7 separate regions of the Homo sapiens genome follow, and all the other regions are linked to region 1. Evidence: promoter capture Hi-C in 16 types of primary human blood cells and fetal thymus (Javierre and others, 2016). All regions are on one chromosome and are shown on one strand. The core of a region is centred on a gene start or on the middle of the fragment in contact, and the rest is flanking DNA. Distances in the headings are between cores, read along the strand shown.

Region 1 (2,688 bases), core at 71-2,570:
GTCTGTGTCTGACAGTCAAGATTCGCATTATCCAGCCCCACCACCTGACCCTTACAATCTTATCTCCTGCTGCTATGACTTTCTCCACTGGGCCAAATTCCACTCATCCATCCTCCAAGGCCCAGTTCAAACGTCTGCTCTGTGAAGCCATCTCTGGTTCTCCCTCGAGGGGGGAGGTCCCCTCATGCTTCTGAATTTCCAGTCTTTTGTTGTTGTATCCTTCATCAGACGCTAAGCTCCCCAGGACCTGGCACGCAGTAGGTTCCTCAATGGAGCGTTTGCTGGAATGGGGGAGGGTGGTCTCCAGCTTCCCGAGAGGCACCTAAGCACGCCAGCCAAAGTGGGGCTGGGCAGAGACCAGACCCGCTTTTGGAGTCAGTGTCTACAAAGTGCTCTCGGGGGAAGGGGGCACGCGGGGAACGTCGCCCACCCGGAGCCGATCCCCCCAAGAACGCTTCACTCGGGTGGGGTTACTGCTTGGGCTCGCCCCAAGCACAGTGCGCACACTTCACACATCCGCAAGCCTCCTGAAACGCCTCTCCCCTCAGGCCGACCTTTCTGTTTCCTTCAACGCCTCCCATCTGTTGTGTGCGTTCCAGTTTCCAACTCAGAGTCAGAACCATCATTTCCAAAGACTCCTGCAACAGCCCGAGGACGCATACAAGGCATGGGTTACTTTTCAGACGGAGATTTGGGGCTCAGGGTCCAGCGACTCACCCAAGGTCACTCTCAAGAAGTATGAGGGCTATGACTTTGACCCAAGCCTTCTAACTCCCCGGGCAGCGCTCCTCCCAAGCCCCCCGCAAGCTGTCTGAGCTTCAAAGGAAAAAGTTTAAAAGTGATCCATACGTCCCAAAGCACGCACAAAGCGTTCTTCTGTAAACTGCGGCATGGGTCGCTGATAAAAGGTCCCTCTGAAGGTTTGAAGATACTCAACAAGGCTCCACAGAGGGTACTTTGGAGTTTTCCGCGAAGGCGCTCGCCCCGCAGAACCGACAAGGCCCCTAAAACCGACAATGCCCAGACGCCCCCTGCAGGCAGCGCGCTAGAGAACGCGTTGGCTGTTTCTGGCACGCTGAGGCCACCGTACGGCATCAAGGGTGAAGCATGGTGGCTAGCGGAGCCCGCATCCTGACAGGTGTGCTGGCGTGGCCCTCTACCTGCCCCGCCGCGGCGGCCTGCGGCCAGGAGAAGTAGGCTGGCGACATCTGGCGGGCCGCGGGCCGAGGGAGGGGAGGCGGGGCGGGGCGGTGTCTCCCTCACGTGACCCCAACAGCGCCCAGCGCGTCGCGCTGCGCCCCAACCTCGGGGTCGGTCACAGTCTGCGCCTGCGCGGGCCCCGGCTCGCTAGCCGTCCTGCGGGACGCCGGCGCTGATGGGTGAGTGTGGGACGAGCGTGGGGAAGCACCGGGCTTTCTTCGCATGAGGTTGGAGGGAGGGGAAACGCGCTGAAGGGCCCGCTGGGGCAGGCTGCCGCCCTGGGGGCCCATCCCTGTCTTCTGCGCGCTCCGGCTGCCCTGGCCCGGTCCCTGCGGGCCCCACCCAGGCGGCGCGGGCGGAATCAGTTCTGAGCCTCCTCGGCTCCGGGCTCCCCCGCCTGCCGCGGGTGTTTGTCCGGCTGCTGGGCGACCTTTCCCGCGAAGGCGCTGTCCCTTCATTCGGGCGCGCCCTGGGCTGGGGAGGCACCTCCCTGGTGCACAGGAACCGCAGGGGCGGGGAGGAGCCGGGAGCTGCCTGCGCCCGGGGGACAGCGGGGATGGCACCGCGCAAGGGCCTCTGCGTCCCGGGAGACTGGGATTTCGGCCTCACCTCGGGACCCCTGACTGTGAAGTGTCAGAAACGGAAGAGGACTTAGTGATCTTGTCCAACCCCCTCCCCGCCTTTCACAGGTTGGGGAAATGGACGCCTGGAGAACGGTAAGTTCAGCTACATAGCCTGGCAGTGCTTGTTCTGCGACAGCATATTGCATCGCGTTGTAGGAAGCTCACTTGTACAAGGATTTTCGGGGACGATGGTGTTGGTGGTGTTAGTCTCCATCCATTATTTGGTGTTCAGTTTAGCTAGATGGAGTATGTCAGCACCTCAACTTCCTGCAAAACCTTTGTTTTGCATCTCACAGCTCTACCTAGCTGATCTTAATTCCCACCTTCTGTTTTTCTCTACTTGTAATCTCTGAAACAGAAGCCCTTGAAATGTATAGTGACCTTGCCATTTTGAGCCGCCTCTGCCCGTGCTTTGAAAGGATTCCATAGGATCAAAAGGTGCTAGGACTCTTGAGGTCCCATAGTGGTTTAGAGCACAGGTTACCGCTTTGGAACTGGAATCACCCTTAGCGCATCTCAGGGGAAAACAAGCTAGGAGTTGACTCATCTGATCTCTCGTTTGGTAAATGAAAGCAAACTCAGATCAGTGGATTTTAAAATCAGATATTGCTTTGTCTTTATATTGGCAAGCTAGTGTCGTAACTAGGACTAGACCCAGGCTGATCTTGTTCTGAATGCTGACTCAGACCTGCTGACTAGTGGAAATTCACATCCTTTGAGAATTGGAGTCACCCTCTCCCCAGTTTTTGCAGAGACCTTTGTGCTAGGATCATATCTGTATCATGCTGATCCATGTAGGCTGTAAATTATAATAAGGTTTTAGACTTTACACTGTTTTCTTAGTCACAGAAGCTTGACACTTGTA
Region 2 (2,688 bases), core at 97-2,596, 490 kb before region 1:
CTCTGCATCTTTCAAAATTATTTTAATAAAAATAAAATCATATAGTAACCTCTGTTGTGCTGCTTTAAAAAAAATTTAAAAACTTAGCGCTGTATTTTGAAGTTTTCTCCTATCACTAATTACAGATGACATCATCCTCTCCAAGGTGGCATAGAATTCTGTTGTAGGGGTAAACTGTTGGACATTTAATTGTCTCCATTTTGTTGCTATAAAGGTTGCCAAGATGGACCACTGAACATGCATCTCACTCGCTCCACCCTCGCTGCACCTTCCTTCTGGCTAGGGAGGTCCCAAAGCTAACCGCCATGTTTCCCAGCCTCATTTGCAGTTAGAGTTCTGGATGTGGACTAGGTGCTGCCAATTAGTAGTACTCTGCCGGATGTGGAAGGCGGGCACGCATTGGAGGGTATTGTCCTGCCCCTGTAGGGTGGCACTAGCAGGATAGCAGAAATGGGAGATGTTCTGCGGCAGCATTCCTTGTCCCTTCTCCAGCTTTCTGGCTGTGGACCGGCCGCTGTGGCTGTAGCCGCTCCTTGACCTGGCTTCCTGCTCTTTGAATGGAGGCTGCAGGAGGGTGTCTGAAGTAGCCTCAGACAGGCACGAGGCTGGTGGGCCACGTCCATATTGTCCTGAGAGTTGGTCCTGGTCTGGCTAAGGCTTGCTTCTGCCTCCGGCACTTGCAGCAGGTCTGTAAGCACCCAGTTCCTTGTATTAAATCCCTGCCTCTCCACTGATCTAGGGTGCTCACATGCGACTGCTTGGACCTAATTCACTTAGTTCTTTCCTTAAGCTACATCTCTATGGAATCTTTTGCTACCATATCATCCTTAGCATGTTCACAGCCCTTGCTGCAAAAGTTAGCCATCCATGAAGGCACTATGATTGGCATCTTATCACCTTGATGCCCATGCTTTCCTCGGGTTTCTCCAGCAACGGCATGAGCCCCTTGCCAAGGCCCTCCTGCCTCCCCCACAGCACGTGGACAGCCTAGCTCCCCTTGGGCACTTGGCATAGCACTCCAGGACTGATTGACTTAATGATTAACTGACCAATCCTTAAGAGGCCTCATTGATAGAGGGAGTGAGTTTATGGCAAAATGAGTATCAGTCCTCGTGTTAGAGTGCATTGGAAACTGTGGCAGGTCTGAGAGGCCAGCTGCAGACAGGAAGTGACCCCCATGCGGCAAGGTTGGAGGCTGTGCCCCTTGAGGAGCAGCTGAAGGAACTGGGATGTTCACCCTTTAGAACTTGAAAGACAAGGCTGTGCCGTCCAAATCTCTGAAGGGCAAAACCAGATAGGATCTGTGGGGTCCTAGAAGGCAGAGCCAGACCAGTGAAGAATACAGAGGAATAACTCCCAGAAAAAGCAGAACTGGCTAAGGCTGGGAGGGGCTCCCTTGAAAGGCAGTGGGCCTCCCATCACTGGAGGAGTACAGGGAAGGACAGATAACCATGTGGCAAAATCCTAGTTCAGATAAGAACTAGACAAGGGGCTCCCAAACTTAGCTATACATCAGAATTGAGTGGGGAGCTTAGTTTTTTTTGTTTGTTTGTGTTTTTGTTTTTGTTTTTTAACAATCTCCTGGACCTTGCCTTCAGAGAGTCTAAATTATTAGATGTAGGTTGGAGCCCAGAAGTTTTTGTTAAGTTTCTCATATGCTTCCTTTTTTGTTTTGTTTTGTTTTGTTTTGTTTTGAGATGGAGTCTTACTCTGTCACCCAGGCTGGAGTACAACAGTGCCATCTCGGCTCACTGCCGCCTCCGCCTCCCCAATTCAGGTGAGTCTCCTGCCTCAGACTCCTGAGTAGCTTGGACTACAGGAGCGTGCCACCATGCCAGCTAATTTTTGTATTTTTAGTAGAGACGGGGTTTCACTATGTTGACCAGGCTGGTCTCAAACTCCTGACCTCAAGTGATCCGCCCTGCTCAGCCTCCCAAAGTGCGGGGATTACAGGCATGAGCCACTGCGCCTGGCCAAGTTTCTCATATGCTTCTGATATATAACCATATTTGGGAAGCACTGGCCTAAGTGGTTTCTGAGGAGTCTTTGACTCCGTCATGGTTATTTCCAGAAAGTGACTTTGCCTGCAAATGTGTTATGTCTAGATTCTATCCAGCATGCCCACCTTTGACACTTTCTAAGCTGTGACTGGCATCAGAACTCACCAAAGTGGTCCTGTTGCAAGGTATTTACCCCTCCTCAAAAAAAAAAAAAAAAAACTTCCACAGTGCTTGACATTTATGGTTTGGAGAGAAGAATGAATGTGCAGTAGCTGAAGGTAAAATGCACAAATTATTTTTGCAGAGGGTTGACTATTTTCCAGGAATGTGATGGATTCAGCTTTTTAATTAACAAAAAAAGATCCAGGCCCTTTGTAAGGATATTGGACCTGGAGCCTGTGTGGATTGAAGGGGAAAGGGTGAGATAACACAAGCCACAGTCAGGTCAGTGTCGTCCAGGGATGTGTTTACACTGGGCTGGTGGGAGAAGAGAAGCAATTTCTATCCTTCAGCGTTGTAGAGCCTTATATGTCTAAGAAGTTACTGAAGAAGAATCCAGCTCTGAGAATGACGTACAGATCAGCTAGATTCCAAACAAAAGGACTGAAAGCTGCACTGAGTGTTTCTTCTACACTGAGCATAATCATTTTCTGTATTTGAACGGAAGAGGCAAGACTAGGTCAAGACA
Region 3 (2,688 bases), core at 97-2,596, 440 kb before region 1:
TCAGGGAACTGGAACAAGAATGGATCATAACCATCCCAGCGCCTGCCAAGTCCCCCACCCCTCACACACACACCCCTGGGCTCCCGCAAACACTCCCTGGCTCAGGCCCAGCGCGGGGCCTTCTGGTGAGAACCCCTCCCTGGGAGTGCAGCCTTCTGGGCCGCTTTCTTCTCAGTAGGACTGAGCTGTCAGGCGCCTCCCAGAGATTTCAAGACGGCTCCCCTCCCCCAAGGGATGCCTTTGTCTTTGTCTCCATAGAAGAGGCAGCAGCAGGGGGTGGGGTTTGGAAGAGGGGAAATGAGACAGGGTCCTTGCACCCAGAAAGCCTAATTGGGGTGAAGGGTGGCCAGACACGGATGCTTTTTGTGTGGGTCATAGGAGCTCAGAGGACTGAGAGGTCCCTGCCTTCTGGAAGGTAGTCAGAGAGGACTTCATGGAGGAGATGGCCTTTGGGCTGTCCTGGAAGGACAGTAGATTAGATGGGCAGAGATGAGGAGGAAGAGTGTTTCCAAGTGAAGGGACCACATGACCCAAGGCTCGGAGGTGGGAGAGAACCAGGGGTACTGGAGAATAGGAGGTGGGCCCGTGTGAGTGGCCCTGAAGAGTATGGGTGGAGATGCTGGGGAAATGGGGAATAAGGCCAGAGAAGTCCCAGGCCAGCCGGATGGCAGAGGGCTTGATTGTCAGCTGAAGAGCATGAGCCTGGTTTCTCAGCCCATGGAGAGCACCGAAAGTTTTGATAAGGATAACGGCCCTGGTCCTTGGGGTGGAGAATAGAATGAGTAGGGTGAGGTGGAGGCAGGGAGAACAATGTGGAAGGGCTATGGCCTGGACAGGGCAGTGGCTGTTAGGGTGGGGAAAGATGCACATGTGAAAATCACCTTCAACAGAAGGAAAAGCTTACAGAACATGGACTGGGGGGAGGGGTGAGAGAGAACAGGTAGTCAGGGATGATCCTCAGGCCACACAAGCAGGCCCTTGGAGGTGCAAGTGGGTCAGGTGGAGAGTGTGGTTGGGGCGGGGGTGGTAGTTTTCTGAGCACAAAAGTCTGTGTCCCTTTGGGCATCTGTGGCTGGGAAGGAGGGCTTTGCTCCGGGTAAGATGCAGGTGGGAGGCTGCAAGCATGTTGTATGTGGCAGGGCTAGGTGCTGTACCCAGGCAGACCCAGGACCTGTCACAGGAGAGGTGTCTCAGGGAAGAGAGCAGAAGGCAGTAGCGGGCAGGAGCAGGGGATGAGCAGCCACTTGCCGCCACATAGAATGAGTAAAAGGAGAGTTCGGGGGTTTTTTGCACTCAGAGGTGATTCTGAACTGGACCTTCCTTTCCATTATCCCATTATCAATGAGCACCTCCCACGTGCCAGCTAGTGGCAGAACCATGGTGGCTTCCAGCCCCAGCCCCTATTTTTAAAGAAGTTTCCATCTGATGGGGGAGAGAATGGGTTCCAATATTAGGCTCACCATGCTCAGTGCCATGAGAGAGGGACAGAGGGACAGGTCAGGGAAGGAACCCTCAAGGAGGTTTGCTCACAGGGACATGGGGAAAGGACAATTCCAGGAGAAACAGCCTGAGCAAAGGCCTGGAGACAGAAGTCCATCAGTGTAGACTGAGCCCAGGCAGATTTGGGAAGGGGAGAAGGGGAGACAGGAGATGGAGAGACAGAGGAAGCAGCTCTAGAAAGGCAGATTCAGGTGGATGCAGGTGACCTGGGTTCTGGCTATGGATGGGAGCTGTAGTGCAGGCAGCAAGGAGGGAGAGTGGGGTAGGCAGAAGGGAAGGATGATGGAAGCTTTTCATAAAGGCAGAGGCAGGGTGGTTGCTGGGCCTGAGAGGTCAGTGGGCCCTGGCCGCCTGTCTCGCTCGCCAGGACCTCTCCATTTCCATTACTGCCTGGGTCCTGACTCCTTTATATTACATTTCTGGATCACCCACTCATAAATCCTCTTCCTGCCTGGGGCTGGGAGCCCTTGAACAGGCAGCAGCTTTGATTTAAAGCAGGGCTGGCAGTAAAGGGGGAACAAAACTACCCAGAGAAGAACACAGGCAGCAGAGGCTTCCCTGGGGGAGATATGTAATTAAAGTGGGGCCGCCTCTCTCTTCCTGAGAGCTTCCTAGAGGATGGACGAGGGGAAGGTTGCCACCTGCTACATCGGTCCACTGGGCCAGCACATTCCCAGTTCCAGGAGGACAGGGCCAGACTCAGAGCTGCACACACTAGACTCCAGCTGAGCTCCCTGCTGTAGTCAGCAGACTTCTAAGATTGTCTCCAGTAATCCCCACCTGCTAGTAACTATGCCCTTGTTATGGTGGGAGTCTGGGGTGGATCTAGTGACTTGTTTCTAATGGATACAGACACATAGCAAATGAGATGGGTGCCACTTCCATGACTGGGCTATTAATACGAAAGACTGTGAATTCCTTCTTGCTAACAGTCTCTCTCTGTCTCCCCCTCCCCCTGCCTCTTGCCTTCTTGGTTTGCACACTTTGATCAAGCAAGCTGCCATGTTGGAGTGGTCCACATGACAAGGAACTGAGTGGGGGTCTCTGGCCAACAGTTAGAGAGGAACTTAGGTCCTCAGTGCAACAACATCCAAAGAATTAAATCTCATCAACAATCGCATGAATGAGATTGGAAGGAGATCCCTCCCCCAGGCATCATCAGATGAGACCACAGACCCTGGGCTGACA
Region 4 (2,688 bases), core at 109-2,608, 420 kb before region 1:
TAGGATTTCTTTCTTTTTAAAGGCTAAATAGTATTCTATTGTGTATATATACCACATCTTCTTTATCCATTGATGGACACTTAGGTTGATTCCATATTTTGGCTATTGTGAATAATGCTGCAATGAACATGAAAGTGCAGATGCCTCTTCAGCATACTGATTTCATTTCCTTTGGCTGTAGACCCAGAAGTGGGGTTGCTGGGTCATGTGGTGGTTCTATTTTTAATTTTTTTAGGAACCTCCATACTGTTTTTTTTTTTTCGTTTTTTTTTTTAATTAATTTATTTTTTATTGATAATTCTTGGGTGTTTCTCACAGAGGGGGATTTGGCAGGGTCATAGGACAATAGTGGAGGGAAGGTCAGCACATAAACAAGTGAACAAAGGTCTCTGGTTTTCCTAGGCAGAGGACCCTGCGGCCTTCCGCAGTGTTTGTGTCCCTGGGTACTTGAGATTAGGGAATGGTGATGACTCTTAACGAGCATGCTGCCTTCAAGCATCTGTTTAACAAAGCACGTCTTGCACCGCCCTTAATCCATTTAACCCTGAGTGGACACAGCACATGTTTCAGAGAGCACAGGGTTGGGGGTAAGGTCACAGATCAACAGGATCCCAAGGCAGAAGTTTTCTTAGTACAGAACAAAATGAAAAGTCTCCCATGTCTACTTCTTTCTACACAGACACGGCAACCATCCGATTTCTCAATCTTTTCCCCACCTTTCCCGCCTTTCTATTCCACAAAGCCGCCATTGTCATCCTGGCCCGTTCTCAATGAGCTGTTGGGCACACCTCCCAGACGGGGTGGTGGCCGGGCAGAGGGGCTCCTCACTTCCCAGTAGGGGCGGCCGGGCAGAGGCGCCCCTCACCTCCTGGACGGGGCGGCTGGCCGGGCGGGGGGCTGACCCCCCCCACCTCCCTCCCGGACAGGGCGGCTGGCCGGGCAGAGGGGCTCCTCACTTCCCAGTAGGGGCGGCCAGGCAGAGGCGCCCCTCACCTCCCGGACGGGGCGGCTGGCCGGGCGGGGGGCTGCCCCCCCACCTCCCTCCCGGACGGGGCGGCTGGCCGGGCAGAGGGGCTCCTCACTTCCCAGTAGGGGCGGCTGGGCAGAGGCGCCCCTCACCTCCCGGACGGGGCGGCTGGCCGGGTGGGGGGCTGACCCCCCCACCACCCTCCTGGAAGGGCGGCTGGCCGGGCGGGGGGCTGACGCCCCCACCTCCCTCCCGGACGGGGCGGCTGGCCGGGCGGGGGGCTGCCCCCCCCACCTCCTTCCCGGACTGGGCGGCTGGCCGGGCTGGGCGCTGACCCCCCCACCTCCCTCCCGGACGGGGCGGCTGGCTGGGCGGGGGGCTGACGCCCCCACCTCCCTCCCGGACGGGGTGGCTGCCGGGCGGAGACGCTCCTCACTTCCCAGACGGGGCGGCTGCTGGGCGGAGGGGCTCCTCACTTCTCAGACGGGGCGGTTGCCGGGCAGAGGGTCTCCTCACTTCTCAGACGGGGCAGCCGGGCAGAGATGCTCCTCACCTCCCAGACGGGGTCGCGGCCGGGCAGAGGTGCTCCTCACATCCCAGATGGGGCAGCGGGGCAGAGGCGCTCCCCACATCTCAGACGATGGGCGGCCGGGCAGAGACGCTCCTCACTTCCTAGATGTGATGGCGGCCGGGAAGAGGCGCTCCTCACCTCCTAGATGGGATGGCGGCCGGGCGGAGACGCTCCTCACCTCCCAGACTGGGCAGCCAGGCAGAGGGACTCCCCACATCCCAGACGATGGGCGGCCAGGCAGAGACGCTCCTCACTTCCCAGACGGGGTGGTGGCCGGGCAGAGGCTGTAATCTCCGCACTTTGGGAGGCAAAGGCAGGCGGCTGGGAGGTGGAGGTTGTAGCAAGCCGAGATCACGCCACTGCACTCCAGCCTGGGCACCACCGAGCACTGAGTGAACGAGACTCCGCCTGCAATCCCGGCACCTCTGGAGGCCGAGGCCGGCGGATCACTTGCGGTTAGGGGCTGGAGACCGGCCTGGCCAACACAGCGAAACCCCGTCTCCACCAAAACCAGTCAGGCGTGGCGGCGCGAGCCTGCAATCGCAGGCACTCGGCAGGCTGAGTCAGGAGAATCAGGCAGGGAGGTTGCAGTGAGCCGAGATGGCAGCAGTACAGTCCAGCTGCGGCTCAGCATGAGAGGGAGACCGTGGAAAGAGAGGGAGAGGGAGACCGTGGGGAGAGGGAGACGGAGAGGGAGAGGGAGAGGGAGAGGGAGAGGGAGACCCTCCATACTGTTTTTCATAATGGCTGTACTAATTTACATTCCTACCAACAGCATACAAGGGTCTCCTTTTCTCCATATCCGTGCCAACACTTTTTATTTTTTGTCTTTTTTATAATGGGCTTTCTAACTGGAACAAGGTAATATCTCATTGTGGTTTTAATTTTCATTTCCCTGATGATTAGTAGTTTTGAGCATTTTTTCATATACCTGTTGGCCATTTGTATGTCTTCTTTTGAGAGATGTTTCAGGTCCTCTGTCCATTTTTTAGTTGCATTGTTTTCGTGCTATTGAGTTGTTTCTCTTTCTCTTTAGTGTGTCTACTAGTTTTTTTCCTTGGTGGTTATTATGAGGCTTACATAAAGCTGCTATAGTTATAACAGTTTATTTTAAGTTTATAACAACTTATCTTTGACTGCTCACAAAATC
Region 5 (2,688 bases), core at 122-2,621, 420 kb after region 1:
ACCTTGGCCTCCCAAAGTTCTGGGATTACAGGCGTGAGCCATTGCAGCTGGCCCAATCATGTTTTTATAGCAAAAATGTCCTGTCAAGAATCATGTGTTGCATTTAGCTCTCATAGCCTTTCCTCCCTTAGAAGGCTACCTTGCTTGACCCCACCTCATGATTTTGGATTGAATTGTTCAGGAAAGGAAAAGGGAAGAAGAAGAAAGAAGAAAGAAGGATGAAGAAAGAAGAGCTTAATTGTGTGATTGTCTCACCCATTGATTGTTTCCTCACTAAACTTACTTGGGGTTCACAATAAACACTTTGGAGGTTAATAAACAAATTTATGTTTGTTTTGATCACTGCTTTATCTCCAAATCCTGAACATACTAGACCCTCAATAAATATGGAATGAATTAATGAATGACAGGGCAAAGAATGGGCCTGAATTATCACTAATCTTGGAAGCCTAGCACAGGGACTGGAACTCAAAGATGTTTGGTAATATTGGTTGAAATCAACTAGCATAGGGTTTACACATAACAGACTCTATAAATGTTTTTTGGTTGAATGAAAATATGAACAGTTAAATCAAAGTTAAAGGTGACCAAGATAACAGTGGCTACAATGAGCCAAGTATAGTTCTTAAGAGAAGTATCTTGTGATATAGGAACACATTATATGGCCTTGTTACTCATGATATAGGAACACATTGTATGGCCTTGTTACTCAAAGTGTGGTCCATGGAAACAGCAGCCTCGACAGCACCTGGGAACTTGTTAGAAATATAGGATCTCCAACCCTATCAAATCTTCTGCAACAGGATCTGCAGGTGATTCATGTGCACTTGAAGTTTAGGAATCACTGTTATACCGGACTGATTCCCCTTTAAGGCACATATTTGCCAGTCAGACAGATTATGTGCAAGTCCCCTGGATTGACTGTTTTGTAGCGAGGACAAAGAGTGAAGAGTACAACACACCCACTGAAGCAAAAACTCCTAGAATTACCACAGGCAAGAATTCCAAATGACGGAGATTCTATCCGTGGAAGCAAAGTGTTGATGGTCAGGCAGCTGGGAAGGGGATCATAGTATACCCCTGTGTTGTTTAATTATTTAACAGTTATTCAAAAGACACACCTATACACACCATGTACATATACATACGTGCCTGTGTAACTGGGATGGGGCAGGATGGAGGTGGGATGGGGCAGGATGGAGGGAGCCCTACATAGGCATTAACCAAAATGCAAAAACCTATAGTGGCCTCTTTTATTTTTTTATTTTATTTAATTATTTATTTATTTTTTTGAGGCGGAGTCTCACTCTTGTCGCCCAGGCTGGAGTGCAGTGGTGTGATCTGGGCTCACTGCAACCTCCGCCTCCTGGGTCCAAGCAGTTCTCCTGCCTCAGCCTCCTGAGTAGCCAGGATTACAGGTGCCCACCACCACGCCCGGCTAATTTTTGTAGTTTTGTTAGAGACAGGGTTTCACCATGTTGGCCAGGCTGGTCTCGAACCCCTGACCTCAAGTGATCCACCTGCCTCAGCCTCCCTAGGTGTTGGGATTACAGGCGTGAGCCACCACACCTGGCCAGGTGGCCTCTTTTATATTCAAATCGTGGATAATCACAGGCAAAATTTACCACATAATTTTTTTTGGAAATTTAGTTTGGAAATAATTCAGAGACACCTGGAGTTCTCTTTTAGTATCATTTTTCAGAGAAGGAAAATGGTTTTCCAGAGGGCAAAAGGAGAGGGAGAAAAGCAAAGTCCTCCTTTCCTGGGGTAATATCTCCATCTGCTGGTGTTTCAGGATAACACTAACAAAGACCTGAAAAGGCGAGTCAGATTCCATACTGTTTGCAGTGACTCGCCCTGTACTCTGGGGAATGGCTTCTTTTTTTTTTTTTTTTTTTTTTTTTGGAGACAGAGTCTCGCTCTGTCACCCAGGCTGGAGTGTAGTGGCGCGATCTCGGCTAACTGCAACCTCTGCCTCCCGGATTCAAGCAATTCTCCTGCCTCAGCCTCCTGAGTAGCTGGGATTACAGGCGTGCATCACCATGCCCGGCTAATTTTTGTATTTTTAGTAGAGATGGGGCTTCACCATGTTGGTCGGGCTGCTCTTGAACTCCTGACCTCGTGATCCCCTGCCTCAGCCTCCCAAAGTGTTGGTATTACAGGCGTGAGCCACCGCGCCCGGCCGAGAATAGCTTCTTCTGTCTCACCTCTTCTCTTCCTTTCTTGTCCCTCTGCTTCTCTTTTTCCTCCCTTCCTTTCTCCCTCTGTGTTTGTCTCACTCTCTTGTTCTCTCCTCTGGTCATTCCCATTCCTTTCCTTCATATCCCTGATGCAGACCCTCTTTGCATACCTACACACATGGATGACTCACTCCTTAAAAGGTGGACTTCTCACCTTGAACAGGTTTTTTCCTTACATGGAGCTGACTCTACCTTCTGTAGCTTCTCCCTATAGCTCCAGTTCTTCATTCCGGGGTCATGCAGAACACAATCAGCTCTTCTTGCCTGTGCCCTTCAAAAGCCTGGAGACGTCTATCATGCTTTCCATGTATCTGTTCCTCTCCTCTCCCAGCCAAAATTATCCCTCACATACCAAAGTTTCTAGGTCCCTCCTCTTCCTGGTCACCTCTGCTAGACATATGCCAGTATATCTGGATCCTTCAGGGTCCCATACAGATCAGTACTTCAG
Region 6 (2,688 bases), core at 108-2,607, 400 kb before region 1:
CCTGCACGTTTCCCACTTTGCATAAAACCTGAGAGACCCCGAAAGGCAGCCCACTCTGGGTTATAGACCTCAGGGGCAACAGGACTCACTGGGCAAAGCTTTGATGGACATCCTGCTTCCAGGGGAGAGAGGAACAGAGCCCGGACTGTCCCAGGCAGTTCCTCCCTAACTCAAGATATTACATTCCCTAGGAGGGATAGGAACAAGGCCCAGGCTGCTCCTGGCCTCCTCTCTATCTCAGGATATTGCATTCCCAGCACATTCTACAGTTATGCTTGAGAATTACAAGCAAAAAGAGGAAGGAATTGCGTTGGTCCAAGGCGACCCAGAGAACTGTCCTGCAATGACCTCACTTTAACTTTCACACCTCAAAGGATCATGGTAAATTTTGCATCATCTTCCATGACTTCTCAACCATATTCGACACCACTAAACATTCCCTTTTCTAAAGACTTTCTTCCCTTGACCTCCAGGAAGACATGCTCTCCAGTAGCTCCCCACCTTGCTGGATGTCACTTCTCAGTCTTTTCTGGCCCCTCCTCTGTCCTCCACGTGTTACTACAGACATATGTCATTTCATTATGCTTCACTTTATTGCACTTCACAAATATTGCTTTTTAAAAAAAAACAAACTGAAGGTTTGTGGCAACCCTGTGTCTAGCGAGTCTATTGGCACTATTTTTCAAGCAACATGTGCTCACTTTGTGTCTCCATGGTACATGATGGCATTTCTAGCAAAATTTCAAATATTTTCATTATTAATATATCTGTAATTGTGATCTGTGATTAGTGATTTTTGATGTTTTTATTGTAATTGTTTTGGGACACCACAAACTGCACCTATATAAGATGGCAAACTTAATTGATGAATTTTGTGTGTTGACTGTGTGTGACTGTTTTGACTGCTCCACTCACCCTCTCTCTCTCCCTCTCTTCAGGCCTCCCTATTCCCTGAGACACAACCATATTGAAGTTAGGTCAATTAATAACCCTATAATGACCTCTAAATGTTCAAGTGAAAGGAAGAATTGAATGAACATCTCTCTTTTGAAATCAAAAGCTAGCAATGATCAAGCTTAGTGAGGAAGGCATGTCGAAAGCTGACATCAGTCAAAAGCTAGAGCTCTTGTGCCAACAGCCAGGTTGTGAATGCAAAGGAAAAGTTCTTGAAGGGAAATGAGAAGTGCTACTCCAGTGAACACATGAATAATAAGGAGTAAAAGAGCCTTATTGCTGATAAGGAGAACACTTGAGTGGTCTGGATAGAAGATCAAACCAGCCACAAGATTTCCTTAAGCCAAAGCCTAACCCAGGACAAGGCCTTAACTCTCTTCAACTCTGTGAAGGCTGAGAAAGGGGAGAAAATTACAGAAGAAAAATTGTAAGCTAGCAGAAGTTGGCACATAAAGTTGAGTGAAAGAAGTGATCTCCATAACATAAAAATGCAAGTTGAAACAGCAGGTGCTGACATGGAAGCTGCAGAGAGTTATCCAGAAGGTCTAACTAAGATCATTGATGAAGGTGGCAATGCTATACAACAGATTTTCAGTGCAGATGAAACAGCCTTATACTGGAAGAAGATCCCATCTAACACTTTCATAGCCACAGAGGAGAAGTCAATGCCTGGCTTCAAAGCTTCAGAGGACAAGCTGACTCTTTCATTAGAGGCTAATACAGCTGGTTACTTTAAGTTGAAGCCACTGCTCATTTGCCATTCTGAAAATCCTAGGGCCCTTGAGAATCATGCTGAATCTATTCTGTCTGTGCTCTTTAGATGGAAGAACAAGGCCTAGATAACAACATATCTGTTTACAGCATGGTTTACTATTTTAAGTTCACAGTTGAGACCTACTCCTCAAGAAAAGATTCCTTTCAAAATATTACTGCTCCTTGACTCTGCACCTGGTCACCCAAGAGCTCTGATGGAGATATACAAGAAAATGAATGTTGTTTTCATGCCTAACCCAACATCCATTCTGCAGCTCATGGATCAAGGAGTAATTTTGAATTTCAATTCTTGTTATTTAAGAAATATCTTTCACAAGGCTATAGATGCCATAGATAGTGATTCTTCTGATGGATCTGGGCAAAGTGAATTGAAACCTTCTGAAAAGGATTCATCATCTAGATGCCAGTAAGAACACGCATGGGCCAGGCGCGGTGGCTCACGCCTGTAATCCCAACACTTTGGGAGGCCGAGGCAGGTGGATCATGAGGTCAGGAGATGGAGACCCTCCTGGCTAACACGATGAAACCCCATCTCTACCAAAAATACAAAAAATTTGCCAGGCATGGTGGTGGGCTCCTGTAGTCTCAGCTACACAGGAGGCTGAGGCAGGAGAATGGCGTGAACCCGGGAGGCGGTGCATGCAGTGAGCCAAGATCGTGCCGCTGCACTCCAGCCCTGCACTCCAGCCTGGGTGACAGAGCAAGACTCTGACTCAAAAAAAAAAAAAAAAAAAAAAAAAAAAAAAAAAAAAAAAGAACACTCATGATTAATGGGAGGAGGTGAAAATATCAACATTGACAAGAGTTTGGAAGAAGTTGATTCCCACCCTCAGGGATGACTTTGAGGAGTTTAAAAATTCAGTGGAGGAAGTAACTATATATGTGGTGGAAATAGAAAGAAAACTACATTAGAAGTGAAGCCTGAAGATATGACTAACTGTTGTAACCTCAAGATAAAAC
Region 7 (2,688 bases), core at 135-2,634, 380 kb before region 1:
AAATCCCTTGGCATAGCTTTCAAGGGTTTTCCTGCTCCCTGAATCTACCCTCCATTTGTGCCATTGGGCCCTCCCTGTGCTCCGCCTCCCCTTCCCATGCCTGGCCATTCATCCCTCAAGACTCAACTCTGAAATGCCCTCCCCCAAAGAAATGTCTCCTCCTTGCCCACTTCCAATGTGGCTCTTAGTACCCTGTGTTTTAATGCCTATGTCCAGCCACGTCTGTCCCCCCCAACCAGTCTGAGGAGGGCAGGGACCAAGTCTGATGCATTTCTCTTCCCAGTGTAGCTCAGGACTGGGCACACAGTCAGTGCCTATTGAATGTTTGCTGAGTGAATTGTAGAGGACCTGGGCTCTTTCCCTCCTCAAGCAGGGTGATGTGGGCAGTTTCCCCCAACACATGCCTGCAGGTGGCAAGATTTCAGTGGGGCCAGGCCAGGCCAGCTCATCTCTGGGTATTGTCTTGCCTGACTGCTGCCTGTGCTTGCTGATGGGCAGATAGGAAGGGGGAGCCCCATGAGTCAGGCTGCGCTGGTCTTCAAGCAGGTTATTCATGTTCTTCAGAGATGGTCACTGCCATGCACCAAACCCCTGAGCAAGCCATGCAGTTCCAAGGCACTCAGCTTCCCATCCTCAGCTTTGCCTTTCATTTGAACCCTCCCACACCTGGGGATCCTCCACACTAAGGAAGGTGAGGCTGGCAGTGGCAAGGGCCCACAATGCATGCCACACAGGCTCACTCAAAACAGCCTGGAAAGGAGACTCTCCTTTGCAGAGCGAGCCTCTTAACAGTTGCCCCACTCCTTATAGATCTCGCCTGGACATGACCTCATTGGGAGACAATGCTCCACGGATTTCTCATGTTTCCACACATCTTACAAGTGGAGGCACTGATAGCTTTCTTTCCAGACTATCTTTTCATGGGTGTTTGTAGAGTGAGCAGCCACCCTGGAAGACAGAGATCATTTTTCCCTCCAAAGCAGAAGGCAGATTTATTTGCTGTCCTGTATAATAAAAATAATGTCTCACCTCTGAGGCAAAGATAGCTTTGCTTATAGGTCATAATGAAAGATTTGGATTTCCTAAACTTGGAGTTCCTAATTTTGACACACACCCACTATGCATACCACATCCACCAGGCTGCTCAGCATCATCCCCCCACGGGCCTTGGGGAGCAAGGAGAACTGATATAAATATGAAGCCCATGCTGCTTGCAACACCATGAGTAATAAAGTCTTTTGTCTCTGGCCCTGGAGTCTCATGTCTTCTGCCAGCATCCATGAAACTGTAGCAGGGTGGCTGGTAGCTTGCAAGTGAGGAAAAATTTCAGACCCTCCGCAGCTCTTGATGGGAATAAATTCAAAGTAAAGATTGAATTTTATAAAATTAGGTTCCAAGTTTTTTGGAGTTTTATAAAACCAAGAATAGGTGTGCAATTTGTTGAACAGCTACTGGGATCCAGCCCTTTACATACATAATTTCACTGAATCCTCCCTATAGCCCTGTGATGTATGTGTGATAACACCCATTTTACAGATGAGGAAACTGATGCTCAGCTAGGTGAGGGGACTTGCCCAGGATGAACTGCATTAGAAGCCCAAGATATTCTCCCTTGGCTCTTGTGCCTCCCTCTCAGAAGATCCCAGCAATGCAGAGAGCTCTGAGCAGCCATGGGAAGCCCATTCTAGGAGGCAATGGGTGTTTCTATAGCAACCAGCTTCCCAAAAAGTCCACACCAATGCAACAAGCCTCAGCCCTAACTCTGAGGCCTCTAGGCTGCATTCTTGTGGGCCATCCTCAGAGAAGGATTCTGCTGGCCTGTAGAATTGAGGCAGAGAACGCTAGGGGAGATTTCAATCTTGGCAACCATTGGCATTGAAAAGTGCTAGAAAGCATGTATCCTTTTGAAATGGTTATCCAACCCGTGGCCCACATGCAGCCCAGGGTGGCTTTGAATGCAGCCCAACCCAAATTCGTAAACTTTCTTAAAACATTGTAAGAATTTTTTGTGTTGTTTGTTTTGTTTTGTTTTGTATTTAGCTCATCAGCTATCGTGTTAGTGTATTTTTATGTGGCCCAAGACAATTCTTCGTCTTTCAATATGGCCCAGGGAAGTCAAAAGATTGTACACCCCTAGATTAGACATGTCCGTAATGCAGTCAAGCAGCAAATATGAATCAAAGACCTAGTATATGCCAGTCATTGTTCTAGGTATTAGGCATACAGCAGTGAAGAGGACAGAAAATTTTTGTGCTCTTATAGTGCTTCATCTTAGAAAGGTAAATGCATAATTTAGTAAATGCTAGTGATAAGTGCTACCAGCAAAAACAAACAAAAATTAGCCTGGCATGGTGGCATGCACTTGTTGTTTCAGTTACTCCAGAGGCTGAAAGGTAGGAAGATTTGCTTGAGCCTGGGAGGTCCAGGTTACAGTGAGCCATGATCATGCCTCTGCACTCCAGCCTGGGTGACAGAACGAGACCCTCTCTCAAACAAAAAAAATAAAAATCACAAAAAACAAACAAGGTGAGGAGAATGAAGAAGGGTAATAGGGGAGGTCAAGGAAGATTTCTCTGAAGAGAAGACATTTGAGCTTTCATCTGATGGGCAGAAGAAGTAAGCCAGATACATATGCAGGGGAAGAGCCTTCCAGACACAGAGGACAGCAGGTGCAAAGGCCCTGGGGCA

What was found. Contacts are between HindIII fragments. The CHiCAGO score rates a contact against its expected background, and 5 or more counts as called.
Region 2: a fragment that was not itself captured here is called in contact with the fragment with the promoter of SLC25A51 in region 1 in 16 of 17 cell types (monocytes, endothelial precursors, megakaryocytes and 13 more); the score reaches 30.3 in monocytes.
Region 3: a fragment that was not itself captured here is called in contact with the fragment with the promoter of SLC25A51 in region 1 in 5 of 17 cell types (endothelial precursors, megakaryocytes, M0 macrophages and 2 more); the score reaches 13.9 in endothelial precursors.
Region 4: a fragment that was not itself captured here is called in contact with the fragment with the promoter of SLC25A51 in region 1 in 4 of 17 cell types (endothelial precursors, megakaryocytes, M2 macrophages and 1 more); the score reaches 10.4 in endothelial precursors.
Region 5: a contact is called between a fragment that was not itself captured here and the fragment with the promoter of SLC25A51 in region 1, in 7 of 17 cell types (megakaryocytes, endothelial precursors, M2 macrophages and 4 more). The highest score is 15.0, in megakaryocytes.
Region 6: a fragment that was not itself captured here is called in contact with the fragment with the promoter of SLC25A51 in region 1 in 1 of 17 cell types (endothelial precursors); the score reaches 7.4 in endothelial precursors.
Region 7: a fragment that was not itself captured here is called in contact with the fragment with the promoter of SLC25A51 in region 1 in 2 of 17 cell types (endothelial precursors and M1 macrophages); the score reaches 6.8 in endothelial precursors.

What each region holds. Positions count from the first base shown.
Region 1 is chr9:37,902,759-37,905,446 of GRCh38, reverse strand. SLC25A51 (solute carrier family 25 member 51) reads left to right here and starts at 1,320. Exons shown (of 3, transcript NM_033412.4): 1 at 1,320-1,379. It also overlaps the pseudogene PAICSP1. RefSeq lists a silencer at 1,120-1,879. The HindIII fragment of the contact is 4,581 bases long and covers 1-2,677 here.
Region 2 is chr9:38,389,365-38,392,052 of GRCh38, reverse strand. No RefSeq gene overlaps it. Among named protein-coding and RNA genes, the nearest start is that of ALDH1B1, 2.0 kb to the left of the region's middle. The HindIII fragment of the contact is 2,895 bases long and covers 1-2,688 here.
Region 3 is chr9:38,344,447-38,347,134 of GRCh38, reverse strand. The region is part of intron 1 of LOC107987065 (a long non-coding RNA gene); the gene reads right to left. Among named protein-coding and RNA genes, the nearest start is that of ALDH1B1, 47 kb to the left of the region's middle. The HindIII fragment of the contact is 890 bases long and covers 902-1,791 here.
Region 4 is chr9:38,323,563-38,326,250 of GRCh38, reverse strand. All of the region lies in intron 1 of LOC107987065 (a long non-coding RNA gene), which reads right to left. Among named protein-coding and RNA genes, the nearest start is that of ALDH1B1, 68 kb to the left of the region's middle. RefSeq lists an enhancer at 207-716. The HindIII fragment of the contact is 8,409 bases long and covers 1-2,688 here.
Region 5 is chr9:37,481,599-37,484,286 of GRCh38, reverse strand. No RefSeq gene overlaps it. Among named protein-coding and RNA genes, the nearest start is that of POLR1E, 3.0 kb to the left of the region's middle. The HindIII fragment of the contact is 5,664 bases long and covers 1-2,688 here.
Region 6 is chr9:38,304,323-38,307,010 of GRCh38, reverse strand. No RefSeq gene overlaps it. Among named protein-coding and RNA genes, the nearest start is that of ALDH1B1, 87 kb to the left of the region's middle. The HindIII fragment of the contact is 560 bases long and covers 1,078-1,637 here.
Region 7 is chr9:38,285,433-38,288,120 of GRCh38, reverse strand. No RefSeq gene overlaps it. Among named protein-coding and RNA genes, the nearest start is that of ALDH1B1, 110 kb to the left of the region's middle. The HindIII fragment of the contact is 5,634 bases long and covers 1-2,688 here.